2 separate regions of the Homo sapiens genome follow, and region 2 is linked to region 1. The links are contacts of gene promoters, found by promoter capture Hi-C in blood cells and fetal thymus (Javierre and others, 2016). All regions are on one chromosome and are shown on one strand. The core of a region is centred on a gene start or on the middle of the fragment in contact, and the rest is flanking DNA. Distances in the headings are between cores, read along the strand shown. Region 1 holds the start of CAND1 (cullin associated and neddylation dissociated 1). Region 2 has its middle 2.7 kb from the start of MIR3913-2.

Region 1 (2,654 bases), core at 78-2,577:
ATAACCTGTAAAAATATAACAAATCTTCACTATGCATATTACAACACTTTGGAACCAACAGTACCGATCTCCTGAACAGAACTGCTGTAATAAAGCTTCATATTCACCAGGTCCGTATTAAACATCTCTTCCTTTTGAAGATCCGTCTGCTATGATTAAGATCCAGCAATCCACCCCTTTGGCAGTGATTTTGGATATGAGGACATGAGACTGAAACCCCGAGTTCCTAAGTTGGTTTTACCTGACAAGAGGAACTGACAGTGATGCTGGCGGGAAAACCCTATGAGCGAAGTTTCCTCCATCCTGGCTCCCCTCCCCCTTCTTCCCACCTTCACGAAAATTAATAATCCACAAAAGAACTATGTATCAGCCAAGAGCGCAAAAGTTCATCATTCCACCTGAATGCAGCAAGGCCCACGCGCACCTGCGGGCAGAGAGGAGGCTGCCGGGTCCCCGAGTGGGCAGCAGCTTGGGCCCCAGCGAGCAAGGCGGCCTAGCGCCGCAGGATGGCAAGCGAATAGGCCCGGCGCCCGGTCTCCCGGCCTAGAGCAACTCCCTTCTCCACAATGGTGGGTGGTTTAGCCCCTTCGCGCTACCTGAGACGCAAGAATCGCCTCCTGGTGGGGCAGGGAAGGATGTGGGGGCGCTGAGACAAGCAAACGGGGCCTAGAGACCGCGGCGGGCAACTGCCTAGGAGAAAGAATGGGGGGAGGGGGTTGCAAGAGGGGAGAGGAAAGGGGCTCCGCAGGGATCGGGAGGCCAGCGGACCGGTGGGCTGGAGACTTCGGGGCAGAGAAGCTACCGGCTACGGCCGAAGGGGTGGGGCAAGGCCTGCGTGACGGCCAGGGCCGCGGCTGCGAGAACCCCGAGGTGGGGTGAGGGTCGGATCTCGGCCTCACCTAAAGTCCTTGTCGCTGGATGTCATTTTTTCCAGCAAATTGGAAATGTGGTACGAGGCGCTCGCCATGTTGACGGCCTCGATCCCGCCTGCTGGCGCTGCTGGAGCTGCTGCCCGCTGCCGCTGCCGCCGCCGCCGCCGCCACTGGAGCTCCTCCTCTCGCTCGCGGCGGCTCCCGCTTCCAGGGTCGCAGCGCGACGCCGACGCTGACTAGGGAGGCGCCTCGACGGGCTGCCCCCTCCCTGGCGAGGCGTGGGCCTGTCCCGGGGTAAGCCGAGGCTACAGAGCCAGCCTAACGACGGCGCTGTTCGCGTGAGAACGAGCTCATGGGCGGCGGGGCGTACAGAAGGGCCTCTACGGGGAGCCAGACACTTCCACTCAGGGCCGTCTCGCTCCCACTCGCTCCGCACTCGCTCCCTAGGGCAAAAGGCCAAAGCCCGCCTCCTTCGCTCCGGGGGCGGGGGCGGCAGACGCGGGCGCTACGGAAAGCTAAGGTCAGAGTTCACGGAGGCCTCCCCACGCACGCTGTGGAGAAGAGAGTTAAAAAACAATTCGGTTGGCTGAAGCCTGTGTCAGTTTTCATGTGACCCGCCTTTTGGAGGCATGACAACACAAAAAAAAGGGGCTGTTCTCGCGAGACTCTAAAGCGACGGTTAAGGGACAGGGGACGAGTGGAGCAAGTGGGCCTTAATCTGAAAATAACTTGATTGTTTAATGACATTAAGAGAAAAAGATTACGAGCTTTGAGAAGGAGGAAGCCTGGGAGTAACGACAGTTAAGGAGTTAGCTTGCGGAACCAACATAAGAATTTATAACAGGGAGGTGTCGTTTGGGATCAGACGCGTGGCCTGCATTGCCGTAGCCACCGTGGTGTAATGTTGCCACGTAAAAACCACAAATCCCAGAATTCAGTCGGGTGATACACTGGCTCAGAATGTGATTGGCTGCGGGAACTAGTAGCTTCCTCATTGGCTCCCGTGGAAGGAGTGAATGCTGGGATTTGCAGTCTGATGGGGGAGCCGTGCTGGGTAAAAACCTTAGAATCGTCGCGCACTCCGTTTCTGCCGCGGATTCTTATATTCTCCAATACAGGCTTTTTCTGTTATGCAGTATTTGCAGAGCAGGCTGCTGCAGTTTGGCCAGGCGCATTGCGGATCAGTTGGTGTTCTTGCCAGAGGCCTAGCAGCAGCTTCCTAGCGCTACTACTTGCACCTCCCAAGGCAGCTGAGCCTCCCCACTTCTCTGGCCAGACACACTCCTACCGTGCATCGTAGAACCACCTCTCTGACGCCAGCAGGACCTTAGTAAGAGTAATGGGTATGCGACAGATGGCTGTAGTCAGGCCCTACTGATTTCAAAATAGCTAAAAGACTATCTCTGTAGTTAGCTTTTGTGGCCTTGATGGACCTGCAGCTGTGTATTGCTCCCTCAGACGTACAAATTCGTGGAGATGAGTTATGAAAGTATTTAGTATCCAAGTTTTTCATCTGCTTAATATTTGGGATTTTAAACACAAGTTTTGCCAGCTAGGGGTCAACATCCCTGAAAGTGTTAGGGATGGAGCTAGCTGACAGGCCTTTCTAAAAGAACAGAGAGCCTGGTGAAGAGATGAAAAATCAATCTCACTTGATACTCCTGTTAAAAACAACAACAAACCTTTAAATAGCTCTCTACTAACACATAACTCAAATCCGATCAAATCTACCTGACCTTTACCATTGTTTTCTGTATTCATCAACTATTACTGAGTACTTCA
Region 2 (2,654 bases), core at 108-2,607, 2.3 Mb before region 1:
CTGCCACCTTGTGGAACTGAGGCTAGAGGCAGCCAGGAAGAGACTCTATGATGGGACCCTTGGAAATGTGTCCTTTCTCCATTGCATCTTTTGACCCTTCCTTCTTTCCTACTTCCCCCTCCTTTGATGACACCTCTACACCTAGAGGCTAAACACTCAGCTTCTAGACCCAGACTATATGAGTTTGAATTTCAACCATTTTACGTACTAGCTTTGTAGTCTTGGGTGGGTTTCACAGGCTCTTTAAATCAGTTCATTGAAGGCCATTCAGAGCGTGATCAATGTGCTGGTTTACCAAAAACTGTCTCTTTTAGCTGTTTATACTTTTTTGTTGTTGTTGTTGTTGTTGAAACAGAGTTTCACTCTGTCGCTCGGGCTGGAGTGCAGTGGTATGATCTCAACTCACTGCAACCTCCGCCTCCCGGGTTCAAGCAATTCTCCTGCCTCAGCCTCCCAAATAGCTGGGACTACAGGCATGCACCACCACAGCTGGCTAATTTTTGTATTTTTAGTAGAGACAGGGTTTAACCATGTTGGCCAGGGTGGTCTCGAACTTCTGACCTCAAGCAATCTGCCCACCTCAGTCTCCCAAAGTGCTGGGATTACAGGCATGAGCCACCACACCTATATATATATTTTTTAATTGAGACAGGGTCTTACTCTGTCACCCAGGCAGGAGTGCAGTGGTGTGATCTCCACTCACTGCAACCTCTGCCTCCTGACTTCAAGCGATCCTCCGACCTGTCTCCCGAGTAGCTGGAAATACAGGCATGCGCCACCACACCAGCTAATTTTTTGTATTTTTGGTGGAGACGGGATTTTGCCATGTTTCTCAGGCTGGTCTTGAACTCCTGAATTCATGCGATCTGCCCACCTTGGCCTCCCAAAGTGCTGGAATTACAGGCAGAAGCCACTGTGCCCATCTATTTATACATTTTATCGTAATTTGTATTAGATAGGTTACAGGGCCTATGGAGATAGTGAGACCTTGGGAATCCATGTTTCTGTGATTAAACACGTTGTGTGACTTTCTCCTGGCTCATCTTCTGTCCTCTACTCTCAAGTCCCTTGGTCTTGGCTTCTCTTAGTTAACCCTTCCTCCTCCCTCAAAGTCTTTGTGACCCTCTCCTCTCTATGACCCTGTGTCCTCCTCTCTCTTCCCCTTGGTATAATTTGGCTTTCAGTGAATTGGCTTTTTGTTAACTGGTCAGCTTCCAGTTATATAATCTCTCTGTGCCTCAATTTCCCTTTGTGTAAAATGGAGATAATTATCACAGATTAAATAGCTTAGAACAGTGCCTGTTTAGCTTAGCTATTGTTATCATTATATCCCAAGTCTTCTAATAGGCTTTATAAATATAGTAGCCGAGGTTGGATATGCTTGGCATGTTATGGAAGTAGGAAAGCACTGTAGCATATCATTATTTGATGGCTAGAGGTGATTTGGGAGCAAGGGTAGATTCATTAACTGGAGTGAAATAACTGGCGAAGTGGCAAACAACCACCAGAACAGAGTTATGGGACTTGTCAACATTCCTCAGGAACAGTTAGAATACCTGGGGAAGGAAACCAAATAAAGGACCAGGAGTCCACAGTCACATTAAGTTGGGTCCACCCAGACACCTACTGTTTGGGTAGTAGGGAGAAGGTTAGAAGACTTGATATTTCTCCTGTTGCAGACCGTGATAGTTTGTACACAGGAATCAGTCTGTGGAGCACACTTAGAGGAGCACTTTAAAAAAAAAAAAAACAGGGTCTCATTATGTTGCCCAGGCTGGACCACAGTGGCAGGATCACAGTTCATTGCAGCCTCAACCTCCCAGGCTTAATCTATCCTCCTGCCTCAGTCTCTTGAGTAGCTGGGACTACAAGCACACACCACCACGCCAGTTGATTTTTGTATTTTTTCATAGAAACAGGTTTTCACCATGTTGCCCAGGCTGGTCTCAAACTTCTGGGCTGAAGTGATCCACCCTCCACAGCCTCCCAAAGTGCTGGGATTACGGGCATGAGCCACCATGCCCAGCCCCCAAATATATCTTAAATCTCAATGAACTGACACCATCAACCATCTCAGTCACCCAAACCAGATAACTGGGGGTCATCCTTGACCCCTCCATTTCTGTCATTCCCCTTATCAATCAGAGGTGTTAATTCTTCCTCCTTTAGGCCCTCTATTACATTGGTGGCCCTGAATAAACTACACTTTTGATGTTCATGCTTTTATATGAGCCACTGTAATTCAACAAAATACAACAGAATTGACATTGTGCCAGTTCTGGGCTTAGGCCTCAAGAAAGCCTAGCAGCATCTACTTTTGTGCTCTTGGGAACCCTAAGCTGCCATGTAAGAAGACCACATGAAGAAAGACCCAAGACTTCATGGAAGAAAACTAAGGAACACAGCTGAGAGCTTTAAGTTCCAGACATAACCTAGTGGAACTGGTCCAGCCAGCCCTCAGCTGCTTGAATCATACTAGCATAGGCACAAAGCATATGAGGAAGCCAGGCCTCCAGACATCATGTGAGATGAGCCATCTCTGCTGTGCCCTGCCCATCTCGATCTATAGCAACTTGAGACATTAAATGATTGCTGCTTTAAGCCACTAACTTTTAGGGTGGTTTGTTGCACAGCAGTAAACAATCTAAACAGTC

The links. The method cuts DNA at HindIII sites, captures the fragments that hold promoters and counts their contacts. A CHiCAGO score of 5 or more calls a contact.
Region 2: a contact is called between a fragment that was not itself captured here and the fragment with the promoter of CAND1 in region 1, in 4 of 17 cell types (neutrophils, total B cells, fetal thymus and 1 more). The highest score is 11.0, in neutrophils.

The regions. Positions count from the first base shown.
Region 1 is chr12:67,268,031-67,270,684 of GRCh38, reverse strand. It overlaps CAND1 (cullin associated and neddylation dissociated 1), which reads right to left and starts at 1,327. Exons shown (of 15, transcript NM_018448.5): 1 at 900-1,327. The coding sequence starts at 967. RefSeq lists enhancers at 561-1,212, 1,492-1,751, 1,892-2,191. The HindIII fragment of the contact is 8,089 bases long and covers 98-2,654 here.
Region 2 is chr12:69,580,742-69,583,395 of GRCh38, reverse strand. No RefSeq gene overlaps it. Among named protein-coding and RNA genes, the nearest start is that of MIR3913-2, 2.7 kb to the left of the region's middle. The HindIII fragment of the contact is 3,759 bases long and covers 1-2,654 here.